2 separate regions of the Homo sapiens genome follow, and region 1 is linked to region 2. The links are contacts of gene promoters, found by promoter capture Hi-C in blood cells and fetal thymus (Javierre and others, 2016). All regions are on one chromosome and are shown on one strand. The core of a region is centred on a gene start or on the middle of the fragment in contact, and the rest is flanking DNA. Distances in the headings are between cores, read along the strand shown. Region 1 has its middle 3.6 kb from the start of TRC-GCA9-3. Region 2 holds the start of ZNF786 (zinc finger protein 786).

Region 1 (3,687 bases), core at 992-3,491, 540 kb after region 2:
TCCTCCACCCAAGCCCGCCAGCCCTCCAGCTACTCTATAAACAGTCTCCTTCCTCCTTAACCTTGCCCTGGGAGTCTGCCTTTTTATCCCTCCTTGTACATCTGAAGGCCAGCTTTCCCGTGAAGCCATCCCTCCCCTTCAACCTCCAGAACTGAGAGGGTGGGGTCACCTTCTCAGCCTCATTCTCCATGTTGCCCCCAAACCCCAGCTCCTCCACCATCCCTCCCTGCTTCTCTCTCAAAGCCATCTCCTTTCACCACGCTCTCCTCTCCACATTCATGTCTTCTCCACAAACCTAGTGGAAATTTTTAGAACTAGGCTAACAATCGTATTTTCCTCACCTCCTCCTGCTTTCATTCTCGGGAATGTCAAACTCCAAGGTAATGTGCTTCCAATGCTAAGGCCTCCCAAGATTTCCATCTTCCTGGCTCTAGGAATGTTCACAAACTCCGTTCACTGCGGCCTTCAAGGTGTGTGGTGAGGCAGAGATTCAGAGTTTTCCACCAGTGTCTTCTACCCTGCCTTTTGGTTATCAGCTGAGCACATGGCTTCCCAGAAGAAAAACTGCATTTCCCAGACCCCCTTGGAGCTGTGAGGCCATAGGCATAAGGCTGGTCAATGAGATGCAGGTGAAAGTGATGGGTGTTCTTATATGGAGAGGCTTGTCTTTCCTCCTTCCTACTGGCTGGGAGGTCGATGAGATGCTAATGTGGGTGATGGCATGCTGGAATGAAAGCCAAGCCAGCCAGACAGCCACAAAGAAGAAATCGGGTTCTTGACCCTATGGAAAGCCATGCCTGGACCACCTAGCTGTGGACTTTTATGTGGGAGAAAAGGAAGCTTCTGGTTTGTTTGCTTGTTTTTGTTTTGCTTCCATCCTTTGTTATTTTGGGTGTTCAGCATTCATAGCCAAACCTGATCATCACTTAAACTATTCCCTTTCAAGATCTTAGAATCAGAAAAGTCCTTTTATGACACGTTTTCTGATGTTTACATGTTCTTACTGTTACCAAAAATGTTTCATTATCCTCATTTTGACCTTAATCTTGTCTACCTCTCTCTGTTCCCATGACCGCAGGGCCACCTTGGGGCTCAGCTATCTGCCTGCCCATTATTGATCCCATGTTTGGCCTCTCAGTCATGATTCCAGCTCCTTTGAGAGCTTGGTCTGTGGTCTATCTACCTCTCTCATGAGCCCTTCTGCTTCCGCGGATACACACGCCTTTGGCCTTTCCCACCTTTGCTCTGGGGAAGCCAGTCTTTGATGGAGTAAATTGTAGAGCCAGGCAAATGGTCCCACTGCAAATCTACACCAGTTTGACCTCAACCAGTGCCTCTCTCTAATGAGCAATGATTCTATTCCTTTCTAATTCACTTCTTCTCCATTTCCCACAGTGCCTGATTCACACTTTGCCCTTCTTCCCAAGTAATGATTCCCACCCTACCTCCTTTATTCTCTTTGGAAGACTTTGTTTTCTATCTGACTGAGAAGACCAAGGCCATGGAGGCCCCCCAGCATCCTCTGCTCTGCATCTTCACCTTCTCCTCATCCCCTCCAGGCTAAGAGGAAAAGCCTGCCTGCTCCTCTCTAGAGCACATCCTGTGTTCTTTATCCACCCTTTGGCTTTCCCTGGGATCTCCTTCCATTAATATATCCTCTCTTTTTTATTGACACATTTGAGCATATTCATATATGTACTGGCCATTCATGATATACAGGGAACCCTACAGGCACATCTTTGCAGCAATTATGGTGAACTGTGTGTGCTTTGATAGACATACAGGAGCCATGGAGCATGTGGCAGGGGTCCCACCCATCAGGAGGGTCAGGAGGGCTTCCCAGGAGAACACCCACCCAAGTGCTCCACTTCACTGAGACTGTGCTTGTCACAGTCCTTGGTGACCATGTGTCATGGGTGATTCTCATCTTTAATTCAAGCCCTCAGTAGCATTTTTTTTTCAATCGACATTGGGGCTGTCACTCTTTTTCTGTTGTTTTCTTTGTACTTCTCTGCCACTTTTCCTCAATCTCTTTTGCTGGTTTCTCCTTAACATCCCCATTTTTAAACATTCGAGGGCCCAGGTCTTAGTTCCTAGACCACTTTTCTTTTCACTCCCACTTCCTCAGTGCTCTCATTCCATCCTGCGGCTTTAATGGGATGATGACCCTCAAATTTATATCTTTAGCCAACACCTCCCCTTCGAACTCCAGCTTCATTTTTGACATCTCCATTAGACCATTTAACAGATGGATTCAATTTAATACATCACAGATTGAACTCCTGACTTCCACCACCCCCTCAAATTTCATTTCTGCTGCAATGAAAATGGCCATCTCAGAGAATGGCCCCCCCATCCCGCCGGGTGCTCAGGACAGAAAACCTTGGCATTATCCTTGACTTTTCCCTTTCTCTCACACCCTGCTCTCAAATCATCAGCAAATCCTGTTCACACTGCTTCAAAATATATCCAAAATCTGACCACTTCTCATTGCCTCCACCATCAGACAAAGCTGAAATCATCTCTCATCCAGGTTATGGTGACAACTTCCTGAACTTGTGTCCCGGCTTCCATACATGTCCTCTAGTGCCCTCAGGCCAGCCAGAGGACGAAATCAGCTTATGTTATTCCTCTGCAAGAAATCCTCCAATCACTCCCATCTAATCCAGAGTGGAAGCCCATGTCCGTACACAACCTATCCCAATGGTGACTGAAACAGACATGGGCTCTTGAAACTAGAGGAATAGATCAAGATGTACAAATGTTCACAGAAGTTAAAAATGGAAAATATGAGAAATACTAGATGGTAAGATGCAGGGATATTATAAGACTATTACTGGGATATCAAAGCGATTGCAGGAGGTAAGGACACTTTCCTTGAGGAAGTGATGTTTCATTCATGGCGTACTGGTAAGGTGAAATATTTGTGGTAGTTATTATGCATAAGTAGTGTGTATACCATTGGGGCTGATGTGAAAAATTCTCTCTCTTGGGTAGTGTGGCCATCCTGCTGGCTTTTTCCAGGGCACCTACTGTCCATTTTAGCCATAGAAGCTGGTGCTGGAGTTCACCTCCTTTGCCCAGCTAAGGCTTCTGCACAGTGAGATGAGGCAGGTAGTGACTCCCGCCCCAGGAAACTCTCACTGATCCCTGTGGTCTCCTTGGGCTGCCTCTGTCTGTGCCTTGTGTGTGTTTCACTCTCCCAGCCCCTTTTAGGACCCCCTGAGAGTCCACATTGGGACACCTGGAGCCAGTCTTCACCACATCATGCCCACCAGAGGAGACAAGTTCTCTTTTATGAAGATGGAATTTGCCATCACAAAAGAGGCTTGCCCATCTGCTCTCTTCTTCCTTGCTGAGGGCAATATTGCATAGTTTCCGGAAGGTGGGGCAGGGAAATTTGAGAGGAAAATTTGCCCAACTGACTTCTTTTCATCTATACTTTTACTTCCTTGGGCTCTTAGGTCTCTTACTACCTCTGGTTTTGTGAAGAGCCACCCCCTGGCAAGGTCAGTCATGCCTGGAGTTCCCATGCCATGTAAAATTGTCTGTATGCTGGTACAAGGACTCCAACTATTGCTAACCTTCTAGTCTCCTTACAGTTAGCACATTGGTCTGAGTAATTTATGTAATTTCCCTATTGGAAGCTTAGGGCAGTTTCCGAGGGGAATTCTAATGTAGGAGGAA
Region 2 (4,034 bases), core at 361-2,860:
CAGCTAATTTTTGTTTTTGTATTTTTAGTAGAGACGGGGTTTCACCGTGTTAGCTAGGATGGTCTCGATCTCCTGATCTCGTGATCCGCCCGCCTTGGCCTCCCAAAGTGCTGGGATTAGAGGCGTGAGCCACCACGCCCGGCCCTGTTGATCATATATGTAGCTAATTTATTTTAATTTTGTATAGTGTTCCACCGTCTGAATGTCACAAGTTTGTTTGTTTTTGAGATAGAGTCTCGCTCTGTCGCCCAGGCTGGAGTGCAGTGGCGCCATCTCAGTTCGCTGCAACCTCCACCTCCCGAGTTCAAGCAATTCTCCCTACCTCAGCCTCCCGAGGAGCTGGGATTACAGGCGTCCGCCACCACACTCAGCTAATTTTCGTATTTTTTAGTAGAGACAGTTTTTCGCCATGTTGGCCAGGCTGGTCTTGAACTCCTGACGTCAAGTGATCTGCCCACCTCGGCCTCTCAAAGTGCTGGGATTACAGGCGTAAACCACGGCGCCTGGCCTGAATGTCACAAGTTTTAAAATCCATTCTTTTACTCATTAATAATTTATTTTCAGGTCTGTGATTTGGCTGTTTATATCCTTTCCCCATATATATAGGTATGTATATATTTTTGGAGACGGAGTTTCGCTCTTGTTGCCCAGGCTGGAGTGCAATGGTGCAGTCTCGGCTCACTGCAACCTCCGTCTCCCGGGTTCAAACAATTCTCCTGCCTGAGCCTCCCGAGTAGCTGGGATTACAGGCGCCCGCCATCATGCCAGGCTAATTTTTTGTATTTTTAGTAGAGTTGGGGTTTCACCATGTTGGCCAGGCTGGTCTCGAACTCCCGACCTCACGTGATCCACCCGCCTCGGCCTCCCAAAGTGCTGGGATTACAGGCGTGAGCCACCGCGCCCGGCCTAATTCATTTAATAATCAGCAAAAATCCTCAACATTAAAGTTTACAAGATAAAAATACCCTCTAAACCTCGATTTTAAGAAACCACTAACTTAATTTTTTGTATCCTCTTCTACTCTTCCCAACGTATCATCTTACACTCAACCCAAATCACGCTAGACAATAAATTCTGACATTGAAGCCCCCGCCAAACACCATTTCAACCATTCGGAATCTTAAACTTTTTGGAACAGTTGTTCTGATTTCGGTGACTATGATGTAAAACTGGTTGACCTGTAACATCCACCTCTGGCCCCAAACCTTTCTATCCTTTCCACCGTCCGCTCCCCGTCCGCCCGGCATCCTCGCCCAGGCTCCGCCCCGCTCCTAGGTCGGCCTCGGTCCACGCTCGGCTTTGTCCAGGGGTTTGGCCACGGACAAGCCGCGGGAGCGGAGGCCACCTGCTCACCGCAGGGCCCGGAATCCACATCCCCAGCAGAAGCAGCCTGCAGACTCCGTCCTACCCGTGCACCGCGCGCACTCACGGGGACCCCAGGACACGGGCGAGCCCGGAACCCGAGGACCCACCACGACCCCGAAACCGGGCGTCCAAACAGGCTAGCCCGCTTACCCGAGGCGGCTCCGCCATGGTCCCCGCGGTCCCGCCCGGCCCTGGCAAACCCGACCGTCTCCGGCGGCTCCGCAGGAACCTGCCCTGCTGCGCACTGACTCCCCTCCGCTCCGCCCCAACCCGACTCCCACGCACAGCCCGGGTGGCCCCCAAACGCAGCGCCGGCCGGGCGCGGTGCATGCTGGGACCCGGCGCCCGGCCGCGGCTGCCGCTCAGTCCTACAGCGCCTCCTGCGGGAGGAAGAAGCGGCGCTGCCTGAGCGTCGGTCCTCAGAGGAGGGACCCAGGGGCCCGGGCGCCCTCAGAGCAGGCCGCAGCACGCCGGTCTTTGAGGGACCCTCGGATTCCCGGGATCTGGGGAGGGAAGCGGTCAGAGACAAGCTGAGGAGCTGGCCGGAGGGGAAACGGAGGGGCAGGACATGGAGAGATCAGGGACAGGGACAGGGAGAGATCAGGGACAGGGACAGGGAGACGCGCTCCACAGAAACCCAGACTGAGAGGCAGCGAGAGGGGAACCTCCGGTGCGGTTCCTCCCAAAGCCGCCCCCGAGACAGGCTTCGTCTGTGAGGGGGTCCCGGGAATCCAGCGAGGCCGGAAAGTGGGTGGGGGGCGCGCGCTGCCCGCGGTGGCCCGGGGCATCCGTCCCGCCGGGGGCGCGGAGGCCGTGGGGGCCCCATGCTTGTCCCGCCGGGGACGCGGAGGCGGGGTCCGCCCACCAGGTCCGGTCGCCGTGGGTCTAGAGCCCTCCGGGCTCCCCGGGCGGCCACGCTCCTTCCTTAGCAGAGAACGGCCTTGGGCAGAGACCCCATGCGGAAGCCACCCCGGCCTCAGGGCCGCCTGCAGGGACTCAGGGTGGCCCAAGGCTGCGGTCGGGCACCCCGGGCCCCGGCAGGAGACAGAGACAGAGTAGGAGGAGAAGACGGAGGAGGCCATGACACAGGGCGTGAGAAACACGAGAACGCAAGAACAGGGGAGAGGTGGGGAAACCAGGAAGAGACAGAAAGGAGAGAGGGCGAGGAAGGGGGTGGCGATTGTCTCCAGAAAATCAACCTCGCATTCTGTCTTAGTCATGTCTTAGGTGTCAGGCTGAAGTAGCAAAGGAAAAGTGTGTAGTTTGGAGAGGATGTGCATAAGAAATAAAATAGTCCCTGCGTAGGCTGAGGAGCATATACGCATCTGTGTTTGCCACAGAATCGTGAAATGTACATGCACCTTACTGTTTAACGTTTTTTATTTTTACAACTGTTATACAGTACAATTTTTTTTTTTTGGAGACAAAGTCTCACTCTTGTCACCCAGGCTGGAGTGCTGTGGCGCAATCTCGGCTCACTGCAACCTCTGTCTCCTGGATTCAAGCAATTCTCCTGCCTCAGCCTCCCGAGTAGCTGGGATTACAGGCATTTGCCACCACGCCCGGCTAATTTTTGTATTTTTAGTAGAGACGAGGTTTCACCATGTTGGTCAGGCTGGCCTCAAACTCCTGACCTTGTGATCTACCTGCCTCGGCCTCCCCAAGTGTTGGGATTACAGGCGTGAGCCACCGCGCCTGGCTTTTTTTTTTTTTTTTTTTTTTTTTTTTTTGAGACAGAGTCTTGCTCTGTCGCCAGGCTGGAGTGCAGTGGTGGGATGTCGGCTCACTGCAACCTCCGCCTCCCGGGTTCAAGCTATTCTCCTGCCGCAGCCTCCCGAGTAGCTGGGACTACAGGCACGCGCCACCATGCCCGGCTAATTTTTTGTATTTTAGTAGAGACGGGGTTTCGCCATGTTGGTCAGGCTGGTCTCGAACTCCCAACCTCAGGTGATCCACCCGCCTCGGCCTCCCGAAGTGTATACAGTACAATTTTTTAATGTATACTGCTATGAACTTTTTTTTTTTTTTTTTAGACGAAGTCTTGCCCTTGTTGCCCAGGTTGGAGTGCAGTGGCACGATCTCAGCTCATTGCAGCCTCTGGGTTCAAGTGATTCTCCTGCTGGCCGGGCGCGGTGGCTCAGGCCTGTAATCCCAGCACTTTGGGAGGCCGAGGCGGGCGGATCACGAGGTCAGGAGATCGAGACCATCCTGGCTAACACGGTGAAACCCCGTCTCTACTAAAAATACAAAAAATTAGCCGGGCGAGGTGGCGGGCGCCTGTAGTTCCAGCTACTCTAGAGGCTGAGGCAGGAGAATGGTGTGAACCCGGGAGGCGGAGCTTGCAGTAAGCTGAGATCGCACCACTGCACTCCAGCCTGGGCGACAGAGCGAGACTCTGTCTCAAAAAAAAAAAACCAAAAAACAAAAAAACCTGCTTCACCCTCGCGAGTAGCTGAGATTACAGGCGCATGCCACCATGCCTGCCCCGCTAATTTTTCGTATTTTTAGTAGAGACGGGATTTCACCGTGTTAGTCAGGATGGTCTCCATCTCCTAACCTCGTGATCCGCCCACCTCGGCCTCCCAAAGTGCTGGGATTACAGGTGTGAGCCACTGCACCCTGCCATGAACTTTTAACTATTAACTTTTTTTATAACTGTAAGTTATATA

The links. The method cuts DNA at HindIII sites, captures the fragments that hold promoters and counts their contacts. A CHiCAGO score of 5 or more calls a contact.
Region 1: a fragment that was not itself captured here is called in contact with the fragment with the promoter of ZNF786 in region 2 in 1 of 17 cell types (neutrophils); the score reaches 5.6 in neutrophils.

Annotation. Positions count from the first base shown.
Region 1 is chr7:149,630,275-149,633,961 of GRCh38, forward strand. No RefSeq gene overlaps it. Among named protein-coding and RNA genes, the nearest start is that of TRC-GCA9-3, 3.6 kb to the right of the region's middle. The HindIII fragment of the contact is 2,807 bases long and covers 839-3,645 here.
Region 2 is chr7:149,089,108-149,093,141 of GRCh38, forward strand. It overlaps ZNF786 (zinc finger protein 786), which reads right to left and starts at 1,611. Exons shown (of 4, transcript NM_152411.4): 1 at 1,516-1,611. The coding sequence starts at 1,533. RefSeq lists silencers at 1,553-1,852, 1,973-2,462. The HindIII fragment of the contact is 38,912 bases long and covers 1-4,034 here.